Linked DNA regions of Homo sapiens: region 2 is linked to region 1. The links are contacts of gene promoters, found by promoter capture Hi-C in blood cells and fetal thymus (Javierre and others, 2016). All regions are on one chromosome and are shown on one strand. The core of a region is centred on a gene start or on the middle of the fragment in contact, and the rest is flanking DNA. Distances in the headings are between cores, read along the strand shown.

Region 1 (5,645 bases), core at 2,229-4,728:
TCAAAAAAGGAAGTAAACATGTCCTTCCTGTTCTCATTTTAAACTTGATTTAGATTTCCAATAATGAAAGACAAGTGGGTGTGTCACATGTGTGCTAGCAATGTGAAACAAATGCTATTCATATTTCTCAATTCATAATTGCAGTTTGATTTTTGATGTTAGTTATGGGCTTTGGATTCCTCTTCAATCAAATCAGCTTCACAAGTTAAATGGATTGTTTTTATTAATTTACAATGAAATAGTTTTTGAATGACTTCACACAAAAACCTAGAGATAACATCACAATTGCAATGTTATAAAGTTTAAAGGCCTATTCATTTCACTGTCAGTTGAAATTCGTTACCAGGTGAAAATTCTGGAGCTGGGTTTTGCACTGAGGATGCTACACAGCCACTAGCCTTTTTAATTTGGTCTTATTAACAGAAATACTGACTTAGTGAAATTACAGGCATAGGCCTCTTAATCGCTTTTTATGAGTCTGAACTTTTGCTTTCAATACCAAATAGTATCTGAAAAACATGCTCACTTTTGTGCTTCTTGAGAAATTCTAAGAATTGGCCCAGATTCATGTGATAGTCATTCCTTAATCCATAGTCACCATGAGCCTCAAGGAGTAACTCTTCAAAAGAATGGAAAAGGCGCAGGTCCTCACCATTTCCTTCTGTCTCCACGCTTTCAGCATGCTTACAGGAAATGTGCTTCCAATTGGGGTACCTAATTGTGTGCCAGAACTCCTCACAGTGCTCTTTGAAACCCTCCACACAGATTATACCAGGCTTTCCTGTCATGCAAAATCCAGTCACATCTAACCTTTTCCCAACATCCAAAATCTTTTTCCTTAGGTCCTGCTGATATATATGGTGACTGTAGATCCACATTCGGAGGAATGTGTTCTTGACTGGCTTTGCTTGTGTAGATGGTTCATATACAAGCTTTCTGTTCAGGAAATAAGATGCACTGTTGTCCTGTAGCCACTGGATTGCTGCACATACACAGAGCTCACCTGGATCAAAAGTCCCTATGTAAGAAGTGAGACCTTTGTTGAGAAGTAGCTGCTGATGTCTGTCAAGTTCAGATGACCGTCCAAACAGCTGCAATGCTACATAGGGGTAGCTGTGAGGCATGGTCACTTGCAAATCAATTTTCACCTTAAAATGAAAATCAAATAGATTTAAATACCATAACATCACATAAGCTAGTTTATCAATAGCAACTGCATGATTTTGAGAAATGTTATTGCTACTATTAAATGTACCAGGTACTTTACATACATGATTGCTTCCTTTTATGCATTATTTCAATATTTATTGAACAACTACGTGTGCCAGGTGCCCTTGTGCTGGGATAAAAAAGTGAATAAACCAGACACTATTTTTGCCCTTCATGAAGTCCAGGGCCTAGTGAAGGAGACACACATTAAACAAATAATTACATATAGCAAGTATTTAATTTCAATTGTGAAAAGCATTACCATGGAAAAGTGGAGGGTTCCATTGAAGTGTGTAACCAGCGGGACAGAATCCAGTCTGGAGAACCAGAAAGTCTCCTCTGAGGGAATAACAACTGAAGGATGAGTAGGAAATAGCTACAACAGTGGTTCTCAAATGCCCAGTCCACGTATTACCTATGCTATGCTAATGTTGCTGGAGATAAATGGATCAGAAGATGGAGGTAAATTCATTTTTAGTCTTTAGATTTTTCCATCCATATTTGCTTTCTGTGTTATGGTGCCATCAAAAAATCCACTCATTCACTCCTTAAAAGACAGTTATGTTACAGGAGATATTTAGATTTATGAAAATCATGATACATGTGAAAGGTAGTCCAACTGGATGGGTGAACAAAATAATAATGGCATAAGACTGCAAGATAGCGTCAATAAAAACTCCAGGTATATTTGTTAAAAAGGTGTATATGTTTACATAAAATTAAAGATATTTACTGAAGACAATTTATAGAGCATTCCGTATCTTTCAAACAAGGAAATATGCACCTGGAATATTTCTATCTTTCCTTGACAGAAAGCTCATGTTCTAGATGTTTCAATTAAAAACTGGGCACCTGGCAAACACTTAAATCAGGGTACCTACCTTGGGCTCTTCAATCTGGAGTGTAATTACAAATTCGATTTTTGGTGGCAGCGCCTCCCTTGTGCCTTCCAAATACCTCTTTATATTCGTCAGGGCATTTACATCTTCAAGTTTTACTTCTCCTTGGTTAGGAAACATAGAAAACAGCATTTCCATCTCCAGTAGCTGAAGCTGAAGGCTTTCTTTCACCGAAGCAGACATGTTGCCTCGCAATCAGCCTGCCTGGAAACCTCACAAGGCTCAGGGACGCTGGGTTTGTCAATGCCAGCCGGTATCCAGCGAAATTTCCCGAAGGTCCCTTTACGTGGAAGCAATTCTGCAGGAACGCTTTGCACCGAGAGCTAGGGGCACAAACCAGACACTTGCACTCTTCTTTATTTCCTGACTCCAAAATCTAGTATGCACAACATCCTCTAAAACACTCCGTAAAAACCCATATTCTGCGTACCCGGGCTCCGGGTTCCCGCCTCCCGCACCCCGCACTAGATAGGGGAATCTGCACTTTCAACAGGTGTTTGGAACTGTCCCGCTGCAGGTGGCAGGCAGACACCTGCAGACGCTCTGCAAGCCTGAATTCTGGGAAAGGCTGGGGCCCGGCTTCCAATCCCACCCGGGGCTCGGGCTTGGGCGGAGCCAGACGCTGCGGCGAGAGAGGCCGCAGTGCCAGCAGGATGGGCTCCGAGTTCCCCAGCGCCAGTCGCCACCCCTCGGTCCTGGACTCGCGGACCGCCCCCCCCCAACACCGCGGTGGCCTTTTCGCTTGGGCCGCATTCCAGGGCTCCGGACGTTTACGATTCACTGGCCTCTGCCCCGAGGGACCCAGGATAAGGGTAGGGGGTGTCTCAGAGGTCATTAAATAAAAGATGTTTACAGTGAGCTGGGGGAAGGGGGTACCCGGGGAGACGGCAGCCGGAGAAGGCTTCCCAGATTCAAAGGTTTGGGAGATGACCTCGACGTCGGAGAGGGGGATGCGGGCCGCCGGCGGCGCTCACTGTGGGCGAGGTCGCCCTGTCCGAGGCCCAGCGACGGGGCTGATTCCCCACCCCCGCCCCTAGCCAAGACCACTAGGAACCCCGGCTTCCCAGGAACGCAGGGCCTGCCGCCCCCAGAGGCCCGGATTTGGAGGCGGAGGCTGTGCCTCCGCGGCCGCAGTGCTCTGAGGGCCCGCGACCCTCGGCCCCAACCCCCGGGCCACCGCGGGGGCCTCACCCTTTCTGGTCACTCAATGGTAACAGCCCCAGACCCCGCTCGGAACCGCAGCCGCAGTTCCTCAGGCGCCAGCTGCGCGCGACCTGCGGCGAGGCGGGGGCGGGGCTGGCGGATAGTCCTCTGCCGTGATTGGCCAGGGGGCGTGGCGACGAGCCGGAAGCCACGCAGGGCCACGTCTGCGGTTCTGAGGACTGGGTTTGGGTGCAGACGTTGTTGCTTGGGCGCTTCTCCGCTGCGTGTAGGTGAAGGGGGCTTCCTGACCGAGGTAAGCCGGGCCCCGAGGCTCGGAGTTGAGAAGGGAGACTACCGGTCGGCAAGGGCTCGGTGGGAGCGGGACAGGTCAGATTCTCGGCCCGACGGAGGGGCTAGTGGTCTGGCGGGCGACTGACCGAGCGGCGGAGCGCGCGGGACACACCTACAGGCCCCTGCGCCCCGCGGGCGGGCTGGTCGGGACGGGCCGCGGGTCTCCTGCCGGGGCTCTGGTACGTGGACCTAGGCGGGGACCTCAGGGTGGAGTGCCGGGAATCACCCTTGTGCGGTGATTCGAGGGTAGGCGGGAGAGAGGCACCAAGGAGATTTGAAGATTGAATGGAGAGTAGGGGGATACTCTTAACTTTTTGCGTGGACGCTGGATTTGGCAAATATGCTTTCAATAAAGGCATTCGCAGAGGCATTGAAAGTAGTTGTAGGGCCTAAAACGCATGAAAGGATGAACTCATATTATCTGGACCTTTTTTTTTTTAATGGCTTTTTGGAGTTAACAGGACTGGTTTACACTCTTATGAATAATCATGACACATAACTGACTGCTCAGTTTTTACAAATATGTATTCATCCTTAGGAAAGAGATCTGATCACTGTCTTGAACTAAATTAGTTTACTGAATGCCAGCTTTTTCCAACTGGACAAAAGCAAGTATTTTTCACCATTTCTTGCAAGTTCTGTTCATTGAAGCAATGAAGGACAATAAAGAAAACAAAATTATGAGGCTAGCAGCTGGCGGACTGCTCCTCATCTCTGGGCTAATTGGGAATTAATTGACCCAGGAAATGTAGTATATGGACTACTGAAGGAAAACTACTGACTGAGGTTGGAAACCCCAAGTTCCACTTAATGGGAGTATCCCAGAGAAAACAGTATTAGTGGGCTAAGGGCCGATTTTTTGTTGTTGTTTGTTTTGAGACGGAGTCTCACCCTGTCGCCCAGCCTGGAGTGCAGTGGCGCGATCTCGGCTCACTGCGACCTCCACCCGCGGGTTCAAGCGATTCTCCTGCGTCAGCCTCCTGAGTAGCTGGGACTACAGGCGCGCACCACCACGCCAGGCTACTTTTTGTATTTTTAGTAGAGACAAGGGTCTCACCATGTTGGTCAGGCTGGTCTTGAATTCCTGACCTCGTGATCCGCCCGCCTTGGCCTCCCAAAATGCCGGGATTACAGGCCTGAGCCACCTCACCTGGCCTGTTTTTTTTTTTTTTTTTTTTTTTTGAGACCGAGTCTCCCTTTGTCACCCAGGCTGGAGTGCAGTGGCGCGATCTCGGCTCACTGCAACCTCTGCCTCCCGAGTAGCTGGGATTACAGGCGCCAGCTAACACGCCCGACTAATTTTTTTGTATTTTTAATAGAGAGGCGGTTTCGCCATGTTGGCCAGGCTGGTTTCAAACTCCTGACCTCAGGTGATCCGCCTGCCTTGGCCTCTCAAAGTGCTAAGATTACTGGCGTGAGCCACCGCTCCCGGCCGATGTTTTATTTTTAAAAGTAAAGGAAAAAGGTGGCATTCTTTCAGAAGAAGATATTGCTAGTTTTAGAGCAACATCTTAGAAGGGTGTCCTGATTGTTTTTAGCAAATGGAAAAAGATCTGGGTAGTCTTGGAGAAGAAACTGTTGCCTTTTGCTTTTCCTTTAAGAATATGTCTCTGTAGTTTGGGAGAAATAGCAAAAGAACCACAAAGATTTCTCAGATATTTGGGGATATGTAGTTTCAGTCCACTCAAGAATCTGACTTTAGGCCTCAATCCGTCACCAGCTATCTATGTTAATTTAGGTTAGTTTCCCTTTTTGTAAAATGAAATGATCTTTGAGCTCATTGGAGTCTCTGAATAGGTGTAAAATCTTCATTTTAGTTGAGAGTGGACCAATTTAAGTGTGCCCGGCGTCCAGGATAGTCCTGGAGCTAAAATGGGAGGAGAGTGGGGACAATCTGCTATCTGCCCTGAGTCTGCCCAGGAGTGGACATACCAAGTTGGACAACATCTTGTAGGTAATTCTAACCCACAGGACTTACTCTCCTGCCCATTGCTCTGTCAAACATAGGGTTCTTTGAGGAGGTTCAGGATGAGACAGACCTAT
Region 2 (5,645 bases), core at 1,783-4,282, 3.1 Mb after region 1:
GTCAAATTTGGGTTTAAACTAAGGAGAGTAAAGAACAAGGATAAAAATGAATAGAGCTTTTTTTCTATTTGTTGATAGTTTAGGGAGCTGGGGGTACTGAGATTATTTAGGTCGGGGAGAAAAAGAGAAAAATAATAACTGATGAGAATTTTATTGAACCTCTGCTACGTACAACCCAATGACAAGCCACCATTGAGACAAATAAGATCAAGGCATAGTTTTACTTCTAAAATGTCCAAGGTGGTAGAGAAAAGAGACAGATTAGGCAACTACAATCCAATGTGATAGGAGTCCTAGAATAGTGCAAACAAAGTGAAACACAAAAAGAGCAATAAACTCTTATTTGAAAGTCAAGTGTTTCCAGATATAACTCTGAGCTAGACCTAAAAGATGACTAGAAGTTACCAGGCAGACTAGGGAGAAAATGGCATTCCAAACTAAGAAGAAACCTGTATAAAGGCTGATAGGCATGAAGAGCACAGTGCATTCCAGGAAGAGAAAATAGCTTGGTGCTTCTAGATTCAGGGTGTAGGGAATGATACAGGGTTAACAGAAAAAGTAGGAAAAACAGATTAAAGGGAGATTTTGAAGGTCTAAGAGGTTTGAACTTTCAACTACATGCAGCCAGGAAAAACAAACAGAGCACCTGCCAGATTCACCTGTTTTGCAAACTGATTTTTTAAATTTTCCCCATCTCTACCACACCATTTGCCTGGTAACCATGAAAATGTCTATGTTATTACAGTGGGACTTTCCTCCATTCCCCTTGCCCTGGCCACATTTACTCAATTTGGGAAACTGTCCTTTTCTGGGAATTTTGGAAGTGTAGTTTAGAAAGAAAGATCAGATTATCTTTAAATGCCACTAGGAACTGCAAAAAATGGGAGTTTTCAGTAATTTCGTGAACCAGAAAAGGTGAAGAGTGTGATTATATTTGAGTTCCTGATTCCATTTATTCCCAAGGCCTAACTGCTTTCTGGTCCTGGGGTTCTATGAGACATCACCGTATCCTTAAAATGTATTCCCCTCTTTGTTTAAGCTATTTCCAATTGCAGAACCCATGACTATGGAGTTGGAATACAAAGCAAAGTTGCTCTTCACCCTTCAGAATGACTCTTGCATCACTTGCTCTCACTGAGCTTCACTACCTGTGCAACTTGTACCTGTTTAGTCTCAGCTTGCTTTTAGACGACCATTTTATATAGCAAGATGATAGTTTTGCAGTATTACATCCTGGCATCTGCCTCCTTTCAAACTCAAACAGAGGTATCATGGAGGCAGAAAAAAAAGAAATCAAATTATTGCTTTTGAATTTTAAAATAGATTTTAAACTTGATAGCAGAGACAATAATTTGAGAGAAAAGTTTGAATTCTACAGACTGGTTTCTGAGTATTAAACCTCAAAAACCTGAATGAGTTAGGAAACAAAGCTTAGGGCTAAAAGAAAAGATTGTAAATCACATACCAGTATAAGAGATGGTTTGTCTCACCTTCCATGGAGGTACAGCTATAGATTAGAAAGACCTGTAGGTATCCTCCTTTGTAGATGAACCTAGAAAAGTATCACTAAATCCTCAGGCTACCCAGCATGTCATGGCATTTGAAACAGCAGGATGCTTCTCCCATGTGGCCAAGAGAGATGCAGCTATGGCAACAAGATCCAGGGAACTTGAGGAGACCCAGCAATCAGAATGATAAGGACTTGTGTCTAGAATATACTGATTGAAAGTCTTAAACGCAACAATAGAAAAGAAAAATTACCCAATTAGAAAATGGGCAAAGAATTCTCATTCATTGATTGTGGCAATGCAAAATGGTATAGCCACTTTGCAACACAGTTTAGTTTTTTATAAAACTAACATATTCTCACCATGAAATCCAGCAGTAGTGCTGCTTGGTATTTGCCCAAATAAGCTAAAAATGTATGTCCACATTAAAACCTGTGCAGAATATTTACAGCAGCTTTATTCATAATTGCCCAAACTTGGAAGCAACCAAATAAACTTAATGGAATATTATTCAGCACTAAAAAGAAATATTAAGCTGGGTGTGGTGGCTCATGCCTGTAATCCCAGCACTTTGGGAGGCCGAGGCGGGCGGATCACCTGAGGTCAGGAATTTGAGACTAGCCTGGTCAACATGGTGAAACCCCGTCTCTACTAAAAATACAAAAATTAGCTGGGCGTGGTGGTGTGCACCTGTAGTCCCAGCTATTCAGGAGGCTGAGGCAGGAGAATCGCTTGAACCCAGAAGGCAGAGGTTGCAGTGGGCCCAGATCACGCAACTGTGCTCCAGCCTGGGCAACAGAGTGAGACTCTCAAAAAAAAGAAAAAAAAGAAAAAAAAATATTTAACCATCAGAAGACATGGAAGAAGTTTAAATTTATATGACTAAGTGAAAGAAGCCAATCTAAAAAGGCTACATACTATATGAATCCATCTATATGACATTCTGGAAAAGGCAAAATTATGGAGAGAATAAAAGAGATGAGGGGTTGCAAGGGTTGGGAGCAGGAAGGGATAAATGGAAAATCACAGAGGATTCTTAGGGTAGGAAAAATATTCTGTATGATATTATAATGGTGGACATATAAATATGTCATTATACATTCGTCCAAATGCATAGAACGTACACCACCAAGAGTGAACCCTAATGTAAACTATGGGCTTTGGTTGACAACTGTGTGTTAATGTAGGTTCCTTGATGGTGACAAATGTGCCACTGCAGTGCAAATGTTGATGATTAAGGAAGCTCTGTATTTGGGGAAAGCATATGGACATTCTCTGTACCCTCCTCTCAAATTTTTTGTGAACCTAACACTGCTCTAAAAAACATAGCCTATTTAAAGAAATGGACAAAGGATTTGAATGACATTTCTCCAAAGAAGATATGCAAGTGGCCAATGAACATAAGAAAAGATTCTCAACATCAATAGTCATTAAAGAAATACAAATCAAAACCACAATGAGATACCACTTCATATCCACTAGGATGATTAAAATAAAAAGAAATCTATAACATGTGTTGGTGAGGCTGTATAGCAACTGGAACCATTGTGCATCACTGGTGGGACTGTAAAATGATGCAGCTGCTATGGAAAACAGTTCCGCAAAATGTTAAACACAGTTATCTTTTTAATTTTGTTCTTCTATTTCTCTTCCTTTTTTGTTTTTTTAAACATAATTATCTTATGACCCAGCAATTCCACTCCTAAGTATATAACAAAGAAAAATGAAAAGGTGTATTCACCAAAGCTAGTACACAAATATTCGTAGCTGCACTATTCATAATAGCAAAAAAGTGGAAACAATCCAAATACCCATGAAATGATGAATGGTTAAACAAAACTGATATATCTGTAAATAGAATATTATCTGTCAATAAAGAGTAATTAAGTAGTGTTACATGGATGAACTTTGAAAACATTACGCTAAGTGAAAGAAGCCAGTTTAAAATACTATATATTATACAATTACATTTATAAAAAGTCCAGAATAGACAAATCAACAGAGACAGGAGGTAGGGAATGACTGCTAATGGATATAAAGTTTGTTTATTTATTTATTTATTTATTTATTTATTTATTTATTTTGAGACGGAGTCTCGCTCTGTCGCCCAGGCTGGAGTGCAGTGGCGGGATCTCGGCTCACTGCAAGCTCCGCCTCCCGGGTTCACGCCATTCTCCTGCCTCAGCCTCCCAAGTAGCTGGGACTACAGGCGCCCGCCACTACGCCCGGCTAATTTTTTGTATTTTTAGTAGAGACGGGGTTTCACCGTTTTAGCCGGGATGGTCTCGATCTCCTGACCTCGTGATCCGCCCGCCTCCGCCTCCCAAAGTGCTGGGATTACAGGCGTGAGCCACCGCGCCCGGCCTAAAGTTTATTTTTTGAGTGATGAAAATGTTCTAAAATTAAGTAATGTTGATGGTTGCACAACTTTGCTCTATGCTAAAAACCAGTGAATTGTACATTAAAAGGATGAATTTCATGATATGTAAATTATATATCAGTAGCACTATTATTTAAAAATTAAATTACAGAAAAATAAAGTTATATTTGCCCATCTAAATATGTTGATGAAGAGATTCATTCCCCCTACAGCATGTTTAACATCCAGTGTATTAGTTCACAGACTCTGTTCATATGAAATCGGTTTCAACTAAGGACTCGGGATAATGGAAAAGCTCCCTGATTTTCCTTACTTCACTGAATTACTAAGTGGAATGATCCTGTTGGAATCAAAAGAAAGTCCAGAATATACTCAAAGCCAATGTATTTGTTTCCTAGGGATGCTGTCACAAAGCAGCACAAACTGGTTGCAGGAACGTATTGTCTGCGATTCTGATCAAGTCCAAGATCAAGGTGTCAGTGGGACCATGCGCCCTCTGAAACCTGTAGGAAAATTCTTCTTTTCCCTTTTGTTGGTTCTCTGGAATTCTTTGTCATCCCTTGGCTTGCAGTTGCATAAATCCAGTATGTGCGTTTGTTACCACATGCCGTCTCCATATCTTTGCACAGCTATCGTTTTATAAGGACACCAGTCATATTGGATTAGAAGCCCACACTGCTCCAATCTAACCTCATCTTAACTTAATCAATTACATCTGCCATGACCCTATTTCCAAATAAGCTTAAATTCTGAGGGCCAGGGGTTAGGTACTGGGTTTGGGGGTAGGGGAGTGTCAAGCTCAACATATCTTTCAGGGGACAGGGGCATAACAGTCAGAGACTTGGTTGCAGGAACAGAAGCTAACTGGATGAATGCTTTTGATAAACTATGGATGCTTTTGATAAACTATTAGGAGGATGTTTACATGGTTAAAGAGTTTTTATAAAGTGTTTTGTGGATTTCTTCAAATATGACCTAAAGTCATTTGGAGAAGGGTTAAAAATCTAGAGATATTTGGTCTAGATAAGATTTTAAAAGTGATGTATTAACTCTCCCTCAAAGTTTGATGGGCTCCCTTGTAGAGGGGTTAAATTTACTATTTAGCTCCGGAGGGAAGAATAAGAAACAGGAAGAAGCAAATTCTAGTGTAATATAAAGAGCTTCTTATTAAGTAGACTGTCATGGGAAGTAATGAATTCTCTATTACTGAAATAGTCAAGCACGAAATGGATGAACACTATTGAGGGAGCCTCTTGGGAGGATTTATGCTTCATTTACAGGTGGTTTAGCGTACTTCTAATTTTAAGAATTCTGATTCTACTATTCACTAGTGTGTACTGAGAGCCTTGCATGTGCCAGAGACAGTGTTTCAATCAACATTATTTTAAGCCAACCCCTGGTCTAAGCCAGCTGTCCCATCCAGCATGTGAGTTATTCCTTCTTCCCCTTCCTCGGCATCTTGGCAACTTCTCTCTGGCTTCTTATCTCCTGCAGGGGCTTGAGATGCACTGTGATCAGTCTTCCAAGCACTTTGAACCATGCTATGTAGACAGAAGCCGTGTAAGCCAGTCACTGAAGAAAGGGCATCAAAAAGTGACATTATTGGAAGTTTGGGCTCAGCCCAGGGGAAGGATTTAGATACAATCAATGGCTCAGAAAACGGCTACAAATGTTAATATCTGCCTGTATGTATAACAGTGTTTTAGAGAGAGCTACTCATCTGTAAAAATACATACCAGCCCGGCAGTAGTGATTTT

What was found. Contacts are between HindIII fragments. The CHiCAGO score rates a contact against its expected background, and 5 or more counts as called.
Region 2: a contact is called between a fragment that was not itself captured here and the fragment with the promoter of PGM3 in region 1, in 1 of 17 cell types (non-activated CD4 T cells). The highest score is 5.0, in non-activated CD4 T cells.

Annotation. Positions count from the first base shown.
Region 1 is chr6:83,191,098-83,196,742 of GRCh38, reverse strand. It overlaps PGM3 (phosphoglucomutase 3), which reads left to right and starts at 3,478. Exons shown (of 13, transcript NM_015599.3): 1 at 3,478-3,564. RWDD2A (RWD domain containing 2A) reads right to left here and starts at 3,386. Exons shown (of 3, transcript NM_033411.5): 1 at 3,300-3,386; 2 at 2,091-2,431; 3 at 1-1,148. The coding sequence starts at 2,291. The coding sequence ends at 471. RefSeq lists silencers at 3,088-3,457, 3,758-3,827 and an enhancer at 3,016-3,515. The HindIII fragment of the contact is 15,181 bases long and covers 935-5,645 here.
Region 2 is chr6:80,099,730-80,105,374 of GRCh38, reverse strand. No RefSeq gene overlaps it. Among named protein-coding and RNA genes, the nearest start is that of BCKDHB, 4.1 kb to the left of the region's middle. The HindIII fragment of the contact is 3,199 bases long and covers 1,433-4,631 here.